Linked DNA regions of Homo sapiens: all the other regions are linked to region 2. Evidence: promoter capture Hi-C in human tissues and cell types (Jung and others, 2019). All regions are on one chromosome and are shown on one strand. The core of a region is centred on a gene start or on the middle of the fragment in contact, and the rest is flanking DNA. Distances in the headings are between cores, read along the strand shown. Region 1 overlaps NFAT5 (nuclear factor of activated T cells 5). Region 2 holds the start of VPS4A (vacuolar protein sorting 4 homolog A). Region 3 overlaps NFAT5 (nuclear factor of activated T cells 5). Region 4 overlaps CDH1 (cadherin 1).

Evidence for each region. The method cuts DNA at HindIII sites, captures the fragments that hold promoters and counts their contacts. A contact is called where the count stands out against the background at its distance.
Region 1: a fragment that was not itself captured here is called in contact with the fragment with the promoter of VPS4A in region 2 in 1 of the 25 tissues and cell types used here (lymphoblastoid cells).
Region 3: a fragment that was not itself captured here is called in contact with the fragment with the promoter of VPS4A in region 2 in 2 of the 25 tissues and cell types used here (dorsolateral prefrontal cortex and heart left ventricle).
Region 4: a contact is called between a fragment that was not itself captured here and the fragment with the promoter of VPS4A in region 2, in 1 of the 25 tissues and cell types used here (thymus).

The regions. Positions count from the first base shown.
Region 1 is chr16:69,691,922-69,696,697 of GRCh38, forward strand. NFAT5 (nuclear factor of activated T cells 5) reads left to right here. Exons shown (of 15, transcript NM_138713.4): 13 at 1-2,318; 14 at 3,215-3,458; 15 at 4,439-4,776. The coding sequence ends at 3,450. Among named protein-coding and RNA genes, the nearest start is that of SNORD13H, 14 kb to the right of the region's middle. The HindIII fragment of the contact is 7,332 bases long and covers 1-4,776 here.
Region 2 is chr16:69,308,939-69,313,557 of GRCh38, forward strand. VPS4A (vacuolar protein sorting 4 homolog A) reads left to right here and starts at 2,412. Exons shown (of 11, transcript NM_013245.3): 1 at 2,412-2,594. The coding sequence starts at 2,574. It overlaps SNTB2 (syntrophin beta 2), which reads left to right. Exons shown (of 7, transcript NM_006750.4): 7 at 1-114. RefSeq lists enhancers at 1,284-2,234, 2,235-3,184 and silencers at 2,127-2,266, 2,327-2,876. The HindIII fragment of the contact is 10,929 bases long and covers 1-4,619 here.
Region 3 is chr16:69,662,200-69,666,841 of GRCh38, forward strand. All of the region lies in intron 7 of NFAT5 (nuclear factor of activated T cells 5), which reads left to right. Among named protein-coding and RNA genes, the nearest start is that of SNORD13H, 44 kb to the right of the region's middle. The HindIII fragment of the contact is 4,649 bases long and covers 263-4,642 here.
Region 4 is chr16:68,822,577-68,827,011 of GRCh38, forward strand. It overlaps CDH1 (cadherin 1), which reads left to right. Exons shown (of 16, transcript NM_004360.5): 13 at 823-1,050. It also overlaps the pseudogene FTLP14. Among named protein-coding and RNA genes, the nearest start is that of TANGO6, 19 kb to the right of the region's middle. The HindIII fragment of the contact is 3,204 bases long and covers 1-3,024 here.

The DNA of each region.
Region 1 (4,776 bases), core at 694-3,193, 380 kb after region 2:
GGACATCTCACAGCCTGGTACTTTTCCAGCAGTTTCTGCTTCTAGTCAGCTGCCCAACAGCGATGCACTATTGCAGCAGGCTACACAGTTTCAGACAAGAGAAACTCAGTCTAGAGAGATATTACAGTCAGATGGTACAGTGGTTAATTTGTCACAACTGACTGAGGCATCACAACAACAGCAGCAGTCACCACTACAAGAACAAGCACAGACTTTACAGCAGCAGATTTCATCAAATATTTTTCCATCACCAAATAGTGTGAGTCAGCTTCAGAATACTATTCAGCAGCTGCAAGCAGGGAGTTTCACAGGCAGTACTGCTAGTGGCAGCAGTGGAAGTGTTGACTTGGTCCAACAAGTTTTAGAGGCACAGCAGCAGTTATCTTCAGTTTTATTTTCTGCTCCAGATGGTAATGAGAATGTTCAAGAGCAGCTTAGTGCAGATATTTTTCAACAAGTCAGTCAAATTCAGAGTGGTGTAAGCCCTGGAATGTTTTCCTCAACAGAGCCAACAGTCCATACCAGACCAGATAATTTATTACCTGGAAGAGCTGAAAGTGTTCATCCACAGTCTGAAAACACGTTATCTAATCAACAGCAGCAGCAGCAGCAGCAACAGCAAGTGATGGAATCTTCAGCCGCAATGGTGATGGAGATGCAACAGAGTATCTGCCAGGCAGCTGCCCAGATTCAGTCAGAGTTATTCCCTTCAACTGCTTCAGCAAATGGAAACCTTCAGCAATCGCCAGTTTACCAGCAGACTTCTCACATGATGAGTGCATTGTCTACCAATGAGGATATGCAAATGCAGTGTGAATTGTTTTCTTCTCCTCCTGCAGTTTCTGGAAATGAAACTTCTACAACTACCACACAGCAGGTTGCAACCCCTGGCACTACCATGTTTCAGACATCAAGTTCAGGAGATGGAGAAGAAACTGGAACACAAGCAAAACAGATTCAGAACAGTGTCTTTCAGACCATGGTCCAAATGCAACATAGTGGGGACAATCAACCTCAAGTTAACCTTTTTTCATCCACAAAAAGTATGATGAGTGTTCAGAATAGTGGTACCCAACAACAAGGTAATGGTTTATTCCAGCAAGGGAATGAGATGATGTCACTTCAATCTGGAAATTTTTTGCAGCAGTCTTCTCATTCACAGGCCCAACTTTTTCATCCTCAAAATCCTATTGCCGATGCTCAGAACCTTTCCCAGGAAACTCAAGGTTCTCTCTTTCATAGTCCAAATCCTATTGTCCACAGTCAGACTTCTACAACCTCCTCTGAACAAATGCAGCCTCCAATGTTTCACTCTCAAAGTACCATTGCTGTGTTACAGGGCTCTTCAGTTCCTCAAGACCAGCAGTCAACCAACATATTTCTTTCCCAGAGTCCCATGAATAATCTTCAGACTAACACAGTAGCCCAAGAAGCATTTTTTGCAGCACCGAACTCAATTTCTCCACTTCAGTCAACATCAAACAGTGAACAACAAGCTGCTTTCCAACAGCAAGCTCCAATATCACACATCCAGACTCCTATGCTTTCCCAAGAACAGGCACAACCCCCGCAGCAGGGTTTATTTCAGCCTCAGGTGGCCCTGGGCTCCCTTCCACCTAATCCAATGCCTCAAAGCCAACAAGGAACCATGTTCCAGTCACAGCACTCAATAGTTGCCATGCAGAGTAACTCTCCATCCCAGGAACAGCAGCAGCAGCAGCAACAGCAGCAGCAACAGCAGCAGCAACAACAACAGAGCATTTTATTCAGTAATCAGAATACCATGGCTACAATGGCGTCTCCAAAGCAACCACCACCAAACATGATATTCAACCCAAATCAAAATCCAATGGCTAATCAGGAGCAACAGAACCAGTCAATTTTTCACCAACAAAGTAACATGGCCCCAATGAATCAAGAGCAACAGCCCATGCAATTTCAGAGTCAGTCCACAGTTTCCTCACTTCAGAACCCAGGTCCTACCCAGTCGGAATCATCACAGACCCCCTTGTTCCATAGCTCTCCTCAGATTCAGTTGGTACAAGGGTCACCTAGTTCTCAAGAGCAGCAAGTAACTCTCTTCTTATCTCCAGCATCCATGTCTGCCTTGCAGACCAGTATAAATCAACAAGATATGCAACAGTCTCCTCTTTATTCCCCTCAGAACAACATGCCTGGAATTCAAGGAGCCACATCTTCGCCTCAACCACAGGCTACTTTATTTCACAACACAGCAGGAGGCACAATGAACCAACTGCAGAATTCTCCTGGCTCATCTCAGCAGACATCAGGAATGTTCTTATTTGGCATTCAAAATAGTAAGAAACTCTAATTTTTCATTACTTAATTGGTCATTATTATTATTAGAAGGAAGCAGAGTGCAGTGGTGCGATCTCAGCTCACTGCACCTGCACCCTCTGCCTCCCAGGTTCAGGTGATTCTCCTGCCTCAGCCTCCCAAGCAGCTGGGATTACAGGTGTGCACAACCACGCCCAGCTAATTTTTGTATTTTTGTTAGAGGCGGGGTTTCACCATGTTGGCCAGGCTGGTGTTGAATTTTTGACCTCAAGTGATCCGCTGGCCTCGGCCTCCCAAAGTGCTGGGATTACAGGCGTGAGCCACCACACCTGTCCTGTATAGTTGTTTTAAGAGTACAGATTGTAGTTAGAACTCTATCACCTATAGACTATAAGATCTTGTACAAGTTATTTGGCTTTTATGGGTCTCAATTCTCTCATTTAAAATGGTGATAATATTACATACTTTACATGGATTTGGGGAGGATTAAATATGGCAATGTATAAAAATGTGTGTTTGCCATTTTAAGCTATAAACTTAAAAGGAAAATGAAGTCAGAATGACAGATAATACCTTACCCAGTTGAAGTAAGTAGTTTCTAAGGAGGTAGAAACTCATCTTTAATGTTTATATACCAAGGAATTTATATAGGACTTTTGATATTTAAGCAAAGTTGTATTTTTAGACTGCTTAAAGGAAACCTAAGATGAATTCCAGTGCCAGTCTGTGAAAACCTTTTTCTTGGACTATCAGGTGCCTAACTTTTAGTAATATACAAGGAGAATGCAGTAATGAATTTTCCCCAACAACTAATAAATATCTTTTCATGAATCTTTACTAATCAGATAGCTTCTATTTTTAATGTTTCTGCAGACTGTAGTCAGCTTTTAAGCTTCTGTTTTCAATGTCTCTGCAGACTGTAGTCAGCTTTTAACCTCTGGACCAGCTACATTGCCTGATCAGTTGATGGCCATAAGTCAGCCAGGCCAACCACAAAACGAGGGCCAGCCACCTGTGACAACACTTCTTTCTCAGCAAATGCCAGAGAATTCTCCACTGGCATCCTCTATAAACACCAACCAGAACATCGAAAAGATTGATTTGCTTGTTTCATTGCAAAACCAAGGGAACAACTTGACTGGCTCCTTTTAACTGGATATGTAAGTATTGCATTTTGGCTTCTTATTGAAAAGCATCAGATTTTATTCTTCTTAACAGATTTAGGTTAAGTAATAGTAGTTCTAATCTTTTAAAATGTGGCTTTCTCACAAGATGATACTTTTTTACTCTGAATAAAATTATTCTGAATGATAGCTTATGGTCATATAGTTAATACAGACCAGGCCGGGCGTGGTGGCTCATGCCTGTAATCCCAGCACTTTGAGAGACCAAGGTGGGCGGATCACGAGGTCAGGCGATCGAGACCATCCTGGCTAACATGGTGAAACCCCGTCTCTACTAAAAAATACAAAAAAAAAAAAAAATACAGACCAAACATCCCTAGTCCAAAAATCCAAAATCCAAAATGCTCTGAAATCCGAATCTTTTTGAGTGCTGACATGACATCTCAAGTGGAAAATTCCACACCTAACCTCATATGATAGGGTCATAGTCAAAAGTCAGGCTCACAACATGCAGTTTATTTGGTGTCCCCAAGGGTAAAAAAGATCCTTCCAGCTCCCTTCAGCTGTGATAGATTTTTTTAGGTGTATGTGAAACAGAAGTGAATTTCATGTTTGGACTTGTGTCTTATCCCCAAGATATCTCATTGTGTATATGTGCATATTCCAAAATCCAAAAAAGAAATCAGAAACACTTCTGATCCCAAACATTTTAGATAAGGGATACTCAACCTATATTGGACATTCCTTCTGCCTCTGAGCTTCTTTGCCTTGGAATAACAAAACATCTGATGAGTATGCAAAATGTGTTTCCTTTGTACTATATATTGGATATAACCATGCCTCACTTATCCCTTCCTCCAGAAATAAATATTGAGTCAGAAAAGTCTGTGGAAGATCAAATATGATAAAGTTTTACTTACAGTACCATAATATACTTTAGGATCATTCAGGGTGTCAGAAACTTTATAAATGCTTCCCTCCCTAGTAAGTTAAATTAAACTTTTTCTCTTTTTTAGAAATTCCACGAAGAAAATCCTGATTCCAAGATGTCCTGAGATCTTGTGGTTCCATGAGAATTATTACTTTAAAAACAAAACAAAATATAAAAAACTGTGTTTGAGTAAACTGATAGATTTTACTCTGACTGCAAAAGAGCACACCTATGCTGCTTGTTGCAGTAACTAACCACCAATGTTAACATCTTCATATTTTATATTCCTAATAACAGTGATGACTGAGAATCTATTTGAGTTTCCAGCTGGCAGAATTAATTGTTATTATTTTCCTAGGCGCAATTTCCTTAAACGTACAGTTTAAATTCAAGGCTGGACCACTCAGTTATTATTGCTATTAG
Region 2 (4,619 bases), core at 1,162-3,661:
AACATACAGCATTGTACATTACAATGAAAATGTGTAACTTAAGGGTATTATATATATAAATACATATATACCTTTGTAACCTTTATACTGTAAATAAAAAAGTTGCTTTAGTCACGTGGGTTGTTTTTTTTTTCCAATTTTTAAAATGCTGAAATAGTTTTGAACCTACAGGAAAGTTACAAAAACAATACAAATCTTCTTCACCCAAACCTTCCAGTTGTTAACATTTTGCCATATTTATTCCATTACCTTGTCTTTCTCTAATATGATTCTCTAGCACCCTTAAATTCTCTAGTGAGGACCTCCAAAACATAAGGACAGTCCTTGCATTGCCACCATAAAGTCCTCCTAATCAAGAAATCAACATTGGCACACCACCACTCATTCCATAGACCCCATTCAAATGATGCCAGCCATCCCGGCCATGTCCTGTTTTCCTCTCTGGCCTTGGATCCTGGCCAATACCACTTTCTTGCCTTTTGTCGTCGTGTCTCAGTTCTTCAGTCTGGAATGTTCCTCGGCCTTACTCTAATTCGCATGTGCCTGAGTCTCAGCACAAGGCTTTGATTGTTCAGCACAGCTCTCCAGCTGGCTCTATTCGGTGTTGCCTCACAACCAGGCTGTGTCACACACTCTTGGCAGAGATGCCACGATGCCATGCTCTCTTCAGGGTATCATGTGGAGAGACACACGAGGGCCACGCATCCCACCACCAGGGGTGTTCCCTTCGGTCGCGTAGTCAAGCTAATGTCCTCATTGTTTTCTCCTTTGTATTTATTTATTTATTTAGAGATGGAGTTCCGCTCTTGTCGCCCAGGCTGGAGTGCAATGGCGTGGTCTTGGCTCACTGCAACCTCCGCCTCCCAGGTTCAAGCGATTCTCCTGTCTCAGCCTCCCAAGTAGCTGGGATTACAGGTGCCCACCACCATGGCCGGCGAATATTTTGTATTTTTAGTAGAGACAGGGTTTCACCATGTTGGCCAGGCTGGTCTTGAACTCCTGACCTCAAGTGATCCACCTGCCTCGGCCTCCCAAAGTACTGGGATTATAGGCGTGAGCCACCGCGCCCGGCCTCTCCTTTGTATTTAATTAGCATTTTGTGAAGAGAGATTAAGGTGTGCCAATTTTTTGGTTTTTTTTTTTTTTTTTTTTTTTTTTTTTTTTTTTTTTTTTTGGAGGCAGGGTCTTGCTTCATTTCCCAGGGTGGAGTACAATGGCCTGGTCACGGCTCACTACAGCCTCGACCTCCCAGGCTCCAGCAATTCTCCCAACTCAGCTTACGGAGTAGCTGGGACTACAGGTGTGCGCCACCATGCCCAGATACGTTTTTTATTTTTTGTAGCGATGGGGGTTCACCTGTTGCCGAGGCTGTTCTCGAATTCCTCGGCCCAAGCAATCGGCCTGCCTCGGCTTCCCAAAGTGTTGGGATTACAGGCATGAGCCCCCATACCCAGCCTCAACTTGGATGTTTTTTGCCCTCCATTTTTTTTCTCTCACAGGATAGACTTGTGGACAAATGGATCACTTGCCTCTGGTGCGTTTTTTTGTTTGTTTGTTTTGTTTTGTTTCTTAATTTAGCGACGAGGTCTTACTATGTTGCCCAAGCTGGTCTTGATCCTCGGCTCAAGCAATCCTCCTGCCTTGGCCTCCCAAAGTGCTGGAATTACAGGCGTGGGCCAGTACACCCAGCCCTAGAACTGCTTTGATCATTGTATCCCCAGAAACTAGCACACAACGCTGCACACAGTAGGTGTGCATGCCTGTAATCCCAGCTACTCGGGAGGCTGAAGCAGGAGAATCGCTTGAACCCGGGAGGCGGAGGTCGCAATGAGCCGAGATCATGCCACTGCACTCCAGCCTAGGCGACAGAGCAAGACTCCGTATCAATCAATCAGTCAATCAATCCAAGCAAAACAAAACTGGCTTTGAACAGTCAGCGGCATCCCACCAGGGATTGAGCCCCAGTGTGGGGCACACTCTGTTTACATTAGCTAGCTCATTTATTCCCCACAAAAGCCAGACAAGGCAGGTACTAATTATGATCGTGCGATATTAAACATGGAGAAACCAACGCTCTGATAAGTTCGTTTTATTGTGAGAATAAAACTGCTCAATGGGCGCTGTTATTCCAAGCGAGGTCAGGATTTCCGGATTCTACCCCGCTCCGCCCCTGGCCCCGCCCCGAGAATGTACGTCCCGCCAGGCCCCGCCCCGGCCTTGTCCCACCCACCCCGTCCCCGCCCCCTGTCCGTCTCGCCCTAGTCCCACCTCCTCGTCCCCAGTCAGTCCTGCCTCTCGAACCGCCCCCTGCCTTCGCCGAGGCAGGGAGAGGTGCCTGCAGTGCGAGCCGTGGACGCTAGGGGGCAGCCGCTCGGCTCGGGCCCGACCGCTCTGGGCTGCGCTCCTCGCTTGCCCTCGGACTCGGCTCCCGCTGCGAGCGGCCGCCCTGCCCGCGCACCGCGCTCAGCGCCCACCGCCGGGCTTCCCGCGCCGGACCCAGTACCTCGGCTCCCCGGGGCCGGACCGAGGCCGCAAGCAGCGCCGCGGGGTGTGGGGCGGACCCAGGAGATGAAATGACAACGTCAACCCTCCAGGTACTTCGTGCGGCCCGGCCCGACTTCGGAGGCCGAAGGCAGCGGGGCCTGCGGGCCGCAGAGCCGGGCGGCGGGCGGGTGGTCAGGTGGGCGCCTCCCAGCCCCGGCCTCGCGACCCCGCTCCGGCCGCCCCCTCGCCGCTTCCGCCCGTGTCTGTTTCCACGCGCTCGGAGCCGGGTGGCATCTCCACCCTCAGGCCTTCCGGCCCTGCCCGGCTGGCCCAGCCCCAGGGCCGCTTCGTGTAGCCGGCGCCCCGGTACCGCCGTGGGGATCAGCCTCACCCGAGCCGCACAGGCACCCTCAGGAAGCTCGGCCCGGGGTCCGGCTGGGCGTTCAGACAGCGATGCTCGCTCCCTCCTCTCCTGTCTCGCTCCCTCCTCTCCTGTCCCGGGTCCTGGAAGTCCCTCGACCTCACTTCGAACAAGCCCCGGCCCCTTCCCCAATCTTCGACTTCCTCTTCTCGGCCAGCGACCCTTCATTCATTCCCTAGATCCTGCAGGGTGGTGCTGGGATGGCGCCACCTGGGTGAACAACTGACCCACCCTCTAGGTGCTGTCAGTCCTGCGGGGCCAGAAGAGATCAACATGCTCAGGCCTCATTCCGGGGTTTGAATCTCAGCTCTGCCACTCACCAGCAAGTGACCTTGGGCTAGTTTTTTTTTTTCATCTTCGGGTCTCGAGTTTCCTGGTCTGTAAAATGGGGTAATGCCCTCTAGGTTGTTGTGATGATAGCTTTAAATTGAATAATTACGGTAAAGCATTCTTGTATGTCTGGCACATAGTAGGTGTCCATTAAGTGACAGCCAACAAAGTGCCTGGGAGAGTTAGGCAAGACTTCATGGAAGAAGGGACATCAGAGTTCCAGTAGCATTCAGAGACCTGGAGGTGGAGGAGGGCAGAAGTAGGAGCAGACATGGAATGAGTTGGGGTACCAGGTTAGGAATTAAGAGTCCATAGCCAGATCCCACCGTACCACCAGCAGAAGCCGCAGATCCCGTCTGCCCAGGCAGGTTTTTTATGGCCCGTGAACCGAGAATGTTTTTCAGTTTCAAACACAGGTGTATTTATTTATTTTTAAATTTTATTTATTTATTTTTTTGAGATGGAGTCTCACTCTGTCACCCAGACTGGAGTGCAGTGGTGTGATCTTGGCTCACTGCAGCCTCTGCCTCTCAGGTTCAAGCGATTCTCCTGCCTCAGCCTCCTGAGTAGCTGGGATTACGGGCACCCGCAACCACGCCCGGCTAATTTTTGTATTTTTAGTAGAGACCGGGTTTCACCGTGTTGGCCAGGCTGGTCTCGAACTCCCGACCTCAGATGATCTGCCCACTTCGGCCTCCCAGAGTGCTGGGATTACAGGTGTGAGCCACGGGTCTGGCCTAAACACAGCTTTATTAAGGTATAACTTGCGTGCTTACCATATAACTCACCCGTTATATATTTTTGTTTTTATTAATTTTTTTTTTTGAGACAGTCTCATTCTGTCACCCAGGCTGGAGTGCAGTGGCACAATCTCAACTCATTGCGGCCTCCGCCTCCTGGGTTCAAGTGATTCTCCTGCCTCAGCCTCCCAAGTAGCTGGGATTACAGGCACCTCCCATCACACCCAGCTAATATTTTTTTGTATTTTTAGTAGAGACGGGGTTTCACCATGTTGGCCAGGCTGGTTTCGAACTCCTGACTTCAAGTGTGATCTGCCCACCTCGGCCGCCCAAAGTGCTGGGATTACAGATGTGAGCCACTGTGCCCAGCGCAACTCACCCATTTAAAGTGTATAATTCAGTGCTTTTAGTATATTCATGGTTGTGTGACCATCACCATAATCACTTTTTAGAATATTTTCATCACCTCCAAAAGAAACCCCTCACCCACAACCCCTCTCTCTCCCAGCCCTGGGCAACCACTGCTAATCTACTTTTTTTCTCTGTGGGTTTGCCTACAGAGAAACCCACTTTATATAAACAGAGTCATACAATAGGTGGTCCTTTGTGGCTAGCTTCTTTCATTATGACTTAACATAATGTCA
Region 3 (4,642 bases), core at 1,337-3,836, 350 kb after region 2:
GGTAGAACTTGTTCTGTCTTGTCTTAAAACACAAATAGAAGTAAAACAAGTAAAATGGGATTTACTTGAAAAATTTTCATATCTACCCTTCTGTAGTAATTCTGGGCAGAGGGATTCATGTATAAATATGCTCCCTGGAAGGATATGATTCTTTTGGGGGAAATAAAAAGAGTTTTATGTGATTGGAATAAAAAGATATACATTATGAAGTGGTAAGATTTGAGGTTACAGAGGTAGACAACACCTCTTTCTTTTTTTTTTTTTTTTTTTTTTTTGAGACGGAGTCTCGCTCTGTTGCCCAGGCTGAAGTGCAGTGGCATCATGATCTCTGCTCACTGCAAGCTCCACCTCCCGGGTTCCCGCCATTCTCCTGCCTCAGCCTCCCGAGTAGCTGGGACTACAGGCACCCGCCACCACGCCCGGCTAATTTTTTGTATTTTTTAGTAGAGACGGGGTTTCACCGTGTTAGCCAGGATGGTCTCGATCTCCTGAGCTCGTGATCTGCCTGCCTCGGCCTCCCAAAGTGCTGGGGTTACAGGCGTGAGCCACTGCGCCCGGCCGACAACACCTCTTTCATAAAGAGACTTGTGTATTCAGCAAAATAATTTGAATTTTATCCTGACCACTTAGGAAGCTTGATGCTTGAACTTGCGACTTTGAGGGCTGGATATGGGAGGAAAAGAAGAATAAACATAAAAATGATCTACAGTAAAACACAGGACCCAAAAAATCTTTTTATTTAAAAAAATTAAAATGTTTGTTCCATTATAAGTTTCTGGCTTGTATTTCTTTCCGTGAATATAAACTTTTTGGCAGCTTTAAGCAGTTGCAGTAAAATGAGAGGTAAAAAGGAAATTGGTTAGTGCAAAGAGTTGGGATTGGAATGGGAGATAGAAGGAAACAGGAAGAGAGAGAGGTAGAAAAGGAAAGGGGCCAAAAGGTGACAGAGTTGGAAGGGAGAAGAGGAAACAGATACTTGATCTTCCTTCTATAGATACTCAGTGGAAAGAATTTCTAATATCAGGATTCATGCAGTGCCTTGTGGCTTTAAAAAAATTACTTCTAATTATTGGTTTAACAATGGCCATTGGATCCTTTGTCTTTTTGTTTTTAAGGGGATAGAAGATCATCCCTTTTTACATTCTTAACATCTTTCATGTTCTCCAGACAATATAGGTGTATATGTTTTTTGTTTTGGTATGTATGTTTATATTATTTTGTTATGTTATATCAAATTAAGAATATTAATTTTCAGCTAGGTGCAGTGGCACGCACCTGTAGTCCCAGCTACTTGGGAGGCTGAGGAAGGAGAATCACTTGAGCCCAGGAGTTTGAATCCAGCCTGGGATTCAAACCCATCTCTTTAAAAAAAAAAAAAAAAAAAAAAAGGCCAGGTGCAGTTGTACACGCCTGTAATACCAGCACTTTGGGAGGGCGAGGTAGGAAGATTGCTTGAAGCCAGGAGTTGGAAACCAGCCTGGACAACATAGCAAGAGTCCATCTCCACACACAAAAAAAATGTTTTAAGTTAGCTGGGCGTGGTGGCATGTCCCTGTAGACCCAGCTACTTGAGAGACTATGATGGGAGGATTATTTGAGCCCAAGAGTTCAAGGATACAGTGAGCTATGGTGGCACCACTGCACTCCAGCCTGGGCAACAGAGTGAGGTCTTATTGATCTGTCCTTAAAAAAGAAAAAAGAAAAAATTTTCATATCTACCCTTCTGTAGTAGTTTTTAATAGGACAAAATTAATCATGGCTTTCTTACATGTAATATATATTAGATTTTATCTTATGGTTACTCAATTAAATATGACTCTGAATTTAAGAATTTTCTACTTCCCCTATTTCTACCTATCCCACAGCTATGGGGAAAGGATGGTATTGTTAAGCAAACTATCCCTCTCTTAAAATTTTGGATAGGATTAGTAATTTACATAGTCAGATGTAGGCTTTATACTCTAAAATATTCTGTTAACTATGTTGTTCTACTAGACATTATTACAAAGCTTTATTCTCTTGACAGGTTGAAATATTTGCTTACTTATTTTTCAGTATTCAGATATTCATTATTTTTTTCAACTTTATTTATTTATTTATTTTTTGAGACGGAGTCTCACTCTGTCACCCAGGCTGGAGTGCAGTGGCGATCCCGGCTCACTGCAAGCTCCACCTCCGGGGTTCACACCATTCTCCTGCCTCAGCCTCCCGAGTAGCTGGGACTACAGGTGCCCATTACCACGCCTGGCTAATTTTTGGTATTTTTTAGTAGAGACGGGGTTTCACCGTGTTAGCCAGGATGGTCTCAATCTCCTGACCTCGTGATCCGCCTGCCTCGGCCTCTCAGGGTGCTGGGATTACAGGTGTGAGCCACCGCACCCGGCCTCAACTTTATTTTTCAGACTGCTAGTTGAAAAGCATCTAAAAGCACACAGTTTTTACAATACCAAAAAGGTGATTTTTTGTGTGTTCTAATTTTTAAGCATTATTCCTTTCAAGTAATTTTTAAGCATTATTCCTTTCAAGAGTCAGCTTATAAATAACTTGGTCGGGCGCAGTGGCTCACGCCTGTAATCCCAGCACTTTGGGAGGCCAAGGTGGGCCCATTACCTGAGGTCAGGAGATTGAGACCAGCCTGAGCAACATGGAGAAAACCCATCTCTGCTAAAAATACAAAGTTAGCCGGGCTTGGTGGTGCATACCTGTAATCCCAGCTACTCGGGAGGATGAGGCAAGAGAATTGCTTGAACCTGGGAGGTGGAGGTTGCGGTTAGCCAAGACTGCGCCACTGCACTCCAGCCTGGGCAACAAGAACAAAACTCCGTCTCAAATAAATAGATAAATAAGTAAATAACTTAAAAATAAAACAGTTAATGCTTAAGTAATCTTGACTTTAGTTGTGTTTAGTATGGCGTCTGTTGGGGACTCATCTCGTAAACTTTAAAGAAAGGACCTTTTAAAAGGCCAGAAGTTAAATTATCTTGAATCTATGACAAACCCACAGCCAATATCATACTGAATGGGCAAAAACTGGAAGCATTCCCTTTGAAAACTGGCACAAGACAGGGATGCCCTCTCTCACCACTCCTATTCAACATAGTGTTGGAAGTTCTGGCCAGGGCAATTAGGCAGGAGAAGGAAATAAAGGGTATTCAATTAGGAAAAGAGGAAGTCAAATTGTCCCTGTTTGCAGACGACATGATTGTATATCTAGAAAACCCCATTGTCTCAGCCCAAAATCTCCTTAAGCTGATAAGCAACTTCAGCAAAGTCTCAGGATACAAAATCAATGTACAAAAATCACAAGCATTCTTATACACCAACAACAGACAAACAGAGAGCCAAATCATGAGTGAACTCCCATTCACAATTGCTTCAAAGAGAATAAAATACCTAGGAATCCAACTTACAAGGGATGTGAAGGACCTCTTCAAGGAGAACTACAAGCCACTGCTCAATGAAATAAAAGAGGATACAAACAAATGGAAGAACATTCCATGCTCATGGGTAGGAAGAATCAATATCGTGAAAATGGCCATACTGCCCAAGGTAATTTACAGATTCAATGCCATCCCCATCAAGCTACCAATGACTTTCTTCACAGAATTGGAAAAAACTACTTTAAAGTTCATATGGAACCAAAAAAGAGCCTGCATCGCCAAGTCAATCCTAAGCCAAAAGAACAAAGCTGGAGGCATCACACTACCTGACTTCAAACTATACTACAAGGCTACAGTAACCAAAACAGCATGGTACTGGTACCAAAACAGAGATATAGATCAATGGAACAGAACAGAGCCCTCAGAAATAATGCCGCATATCTACAACTATCTGATCTTTGACAAACCTGAGAAAAACAAGCAATGGGGAAAGGATTCCCTATTTAATAAATGGTGCTGGGAAAACTGGCTAGCCATATGTAGAAAGCTGAAACTGGATCCCTTCCTTACACCTTATACAAAAATCAATTCAAGATGGATTAAAGACTTAAACGTTAGACCTAAAACCATAAAAACCCTAGAAGAAAACCTAGGCATTACCATTCAGGACATAGGCATGGGCAAGGACTTCATGTCTAAAACACCAAAAGCAATGGCAACCAAAGCCAAAATTGACAAATGGGATCTAATTAAACGGAAGAGCTTCTGCACAGCAAAAGAAACTACCATCAGAGTGAACAGGCAACCTACAAAATGGGAGAAAATTTTCGCAACCTACTCATCTGACAAAGGGCTAATATCCAGAATCTACAATGAACTCAAACAGATTTACAAGAAAAAAACAAACAACCCCATCAACAAGTGGGCGAAGGACATGAACAGACACTTCTCAAAAGAAGACATTTATGCAGGAAAAAAAACACATGAAAAAATGCTCACCATCACTGGCCATCAGAGAAATACAAATCAAAACCACAATGAGATACCATCTCACACCAGTTAGAATGGCAATCATTAAAAAGTCAGGAAACAGCAGGTGCTGGAGAGGATGTGGAGAAATAGGAACACTTTTACACTGTTGGTGGGACTGTAAACTAGTTCAACCATTGTGGAAGTCAGTGTGGCGATTCCTCAGGGATCTAGAACTAGAAATACCATTTGACCCAGCCATCCCATTACTGGGTATATACCCAAAGGACTAT
Region 4 (4,435 bases), core at 173-2,672, 490 kb before region 2:
ACCAATCGTGAGCTCCCAGATTCATCAGAACTATTCTACCGAGGTGGAGGCAGCTGTCAACTGCCTGGTCAATTTGCATATATGGGCTTCCTACACCTACTTCTCTCTGGGCTTCTATTTCCACCATGACGATGTGGATCTGGAAGGTGTGCACCACTTCTTCCACAAATTGGCCAAGGAGAAGCACAAGGGCGCTGAGTGTCCCTTGAAAATGCAAAACCAGTGTGGCGGCCGCACTGTCTTCCCGGACATCCAGAAGCCATGTAAAGATGAATGGGGTAAAACCCTGGGTGCGATGGAAGTCACTCTGGCCCTGGAGAAGAACCTGAACTGGACCCTTTTGGATCTTCATGCCTTGGGTTCCACCTGCACAGACCCCCATATCTGTGACTTCCTGGAGAGCCACTTCCTAGATGAAAAAGTAAAACTCATCAAGAAGATAGGTGACCACCTGACCAACCTTCACAGGCCAGCCGGCCTCCAGGCCGGGCTGGGCAAAAAGGTTCACCCTCAGGCACACGGGAGCCTACCGAACCCAGCGACATCTGAAGAGCCCCGCTCTGCCTAAGCCTCTCCCTCCAGCCACTAGGCAGCTTTTTTAAACCAACTCTAGAGCCCTCTCCCAAGCCTTAGACCAAATGGAAATAAAGCTTTTTACAGCAAAAAAAAAAAAAAAAAAGTACATACCTAAATAAAACCCAAGCAGCTCTGCTCTCTTCACTCGGCTTGCGGGTGTCTTTAGTTCACTAGCAATTTTATTCTGGAATGAGCTTTTTATTTTCCTCCCCTGGTCTCATCATTTCTTTTTATTGCTTTCTCCAGCCCAAGAATCTATCATTTTGAAGCCAAAGATGGCCTTAGAGGTGGGTGACTACAAAATCAATCTCAAGCTCATGGATAACCAGAATAAAGACCAAGTGACCACCTTAGAGGTCAGCGTGTGTGACTGTGAAGGGGCCGCTGGCGTCTGTAGGAAGGCACAGCCTGTCGAAGCAGGATTGCAAATTCCTGCCATTCTGGGGATTCTTGGAGGAATTCTTGCTTTGCTAAGTAAGTCCAGCTGGCAAGTGACTCAGCCTTTGACTTAAAAAAATGGAGGAGGTTTATTTCCTGGAAATGATTTTTGTTCTTATATTAATAAGGATATAGGTTAGCTGATGTGGGAAAGAGACTCCCAAGTTATGCCAGCCTCCATAAAATAGAAGTTTGTCTCTTACTGAACATTTCAGAGGTAAATGGTCTAAGATGGGAAGGCCATGAAGTCAACAGGGGACCCAGGTTTCTTCTACCTTGTCTCTTTTCATTCTTCAAGACAGTGCATCCCAAGCTTGAGAGCATACAAATCATCTGGGCCTCTTTTTGAACTGGGAAATCTGATCCAGGAGGTCTGGCATAGGGCCACAGATTCTGCATTTCTTTTTTTTTTTTTTTTTTTTTTGAGATGGAGTTTCGCTCTTGTTGCCGAGGCTGGAGTGCAATGGTGTGATCTCAGCTCACTGCACCCTCTGCTTAACAGGTTCAAGCGATTCTCCCGCCTCAGCCTCCTGAGTAGCTGGGACTATGGGCATGTGCCACCACGCCCAGCTAATTTTGTATTTTCAGTAGAGACGGTGTTTCTCCATTTTGGTTAGGCTGGTCTCAGACTCCCGACCTCAGGTGATCCACCCGCCTCAGCCTCCCAAAGTGCTGGGATTACAGGCTTGAGCCACCGCACCCGGCCAGATTCTACATTTCTAACCAGCTCCCAGGCGGTACTGATGTTGCAGTTCCTTAGACCATAGGCAGAGTAGCAAGACCTTGGGGGCTGCCCTCATCAGCGTGGTCTAAGCTAGCCAGCTCACCACCACCACCTCTACATTCCATCCTAGATTGGGGAAGGGGATAACAGAGGAAGTGGAGGCCAAACGACTGGAAGTTGCATATATCACCTCCACTTATATACCATTGGCCCAAACACAGCCACATCTAGCTGCAAGGGAACCTGGAAGCTTCTACTTACAATTGAAAATTGACATGGAGTAGGGGTGGAGTGTAGGGTGAGCAGTGAGTGTCAATGACTAAAAGGATAAAGGAGAAAAAGGATGCTGAGGAAAATTGGCAGTTTCTGCCATAGTCCTTAAACCTGTTTCCATTGGAGCCCACCTGGAGTGAGCCCTAGGGGTGACACAGGAGCTGTTATGGTCAAGGTAAATACTTTTATCATTTACACACAGGGAGAAAGTACTGAATCTATTAAAGGAATAAATTAGCGATGAAAACAGACTATGTGCATCAAAAGACAAAGTATCCATATGGAGGAGTGCACTACATCAGAACTCTGGTAGGGCTTTAAACATGTGAATGATGGAAGAGCAAGCAAATGATTATCACAGCAAATGAGAGCAAGTCAATTAGAAACCTTTGACCTGGTATGGTGGCTCACTCTTTGGGAGACCAGGGTGGGAGGATTGCTTGAAGCCAGGAGTTTGACACCAGCCTGGGCAACAAAGCAAGACTGTCTCTACAAAATAAAAATAAAAAATACATTTTTTTATTAAAAAAAATTTTTTAAAAGAAATGTTTAAAGATCATATATAATTAGTGACTGCAAGGGGTGGTCCAGCTCATGAATGCCTTTGTAGTCAGGGTAGTCAGAAAAGGCTGTTAATTGAGTCTCAAGGACAGTTTTGTGGAAGATGTAAGTGGTTAGGCCACAGGGGCTGGTAGAATTCCAACAGGCAGATGGGTATTTAGGAAGGTTCCCCTCCTAGCAAAGCACAGCAGAGGCTTGAGGAGACTCCTAGAAGAGCAGAGACCAGGCCAAGCTGGTGGGAATGGAAAAAGAATTTTGGAGGGAGCAGTGGGACCAAATCTAGGGTTTTCAATTTAGATTGAGCATGGGTGCCATTGATCCTGCTGCTGCTGCCTCAGTGGACTCCAGGAGAGGGTGCCTTTCAACCTTCCAGAAATGTCTGCTGGGCATCCCATTTGCTTCTGCCCCCTCCTGGTGTCCTCCCAAAGTTGAAGAAAAGGATAGTGCTGTTGAGAATTGAGCAAGCCTTCTGGACTTTCATCCTGCCAGGCTTTACATGGCTTTATTGTGCCATGAGATTAGGTTAATTCATCATTGCCTTGGGCAGGGTAACACAAGCCCTGCCTGCCCACTTCCTAGTCAAATTACATTTCAGTGGCCTGGTCTGCTTTTGGTATAGTGGTTACTGACCAGTACATTCATTCTAAAGGGAATCTTTTTTTTTTTTTTTTTTTTTTTTTAGGCAAGTTCTCATTCTGTGGGCCCGGCTGGAGTGCAGTGGAGTGATCTCAGATCTCAGGTCACTGCAGCCTTGACTTCCGGGGCTCAGGCAATCCTCCCACCTCAGACCCCTGGGTGGCTGGGACCACAGGCATGAGCCACCACACCCAGCTAATTTTTTAATATTTTTTTGTAGAAACAGTGTTTCCTTATGTTGCCCAGGCTGGTCTCAAACTCCTGGTCTCAACCAGTCCTCCCACCTTGGCCTTCCAAAGTGTTGGGATTATAGGCATGAGCCACTGTGCCCAGCCAGGGAATCTTAAAGATTGTAGTTATACTTGAAATATTTTTTTTTTAAATAGGATTACCTAAATTTGCTATGGGTATGTATTTTTTTAGACACTGGGGGTGGGGATTCCCATGTAGAGCAACATTTAAAACAGAGGCAATGCCAGAGTTCAGATGTTCAATTTCAATTTCTTGTATTTTTAACTTCTATGATTATTTTTTCTTTCTTTATTAGAGATGGGTTCTCACTATGTTACTCACATTGGTCTCAAACTCTTGAGCTCAAGTGATCCTCCCACCTTGGCCTCCCAAAGTGCTGGGATTACAGGTGTGAGCCACTCCTCCGGCCAATTTCTTGTTTCTTAAGGGCACAAATGTGCTAGAGGCTGGGCACGGTGGCTCACATCTATAATCTCAACACTTTGGGAGGCTGAGGTGGCAGGATTGCTTGAACCTAGGTTTCAAGATCAGCCTAGGCAACATAGCAAGATCCCATCTCTATTAAAAAAAATTACTAGAGAGACACCAGGAGATCTGAAGCTTTTCATGTTTTCCGCCAATGTTTGATTGCTTACTCTGTGCCAGGCTTTTTCTCAGAGCCTGCGGATACTGGGCTTCTGGCACAGCTGATAAGAGGGGTCATTTTGGAAACGGTAAACTGCCTCTTGCTTTGCATGGATGGGGACTGTGTAGCTCCTATAGTCTTGTTCAGTGCTGTCTCCCTGTGCAGCCAATTCAGTGTTCTTGTTGATGAATCATGGACAAGGGAGTTATGCTGTTTATCTGGATAAGGTTTCTGGCATTTTTCTGGTTTTAGAAATAGGTAGTTGAGGTACATCTGAGAAATCTTTTCCCCAAGTTTATGCAACCTCCTGTTTAAAGATTATGCTTCGGCCGGGCGTGGTGGCTCACGCC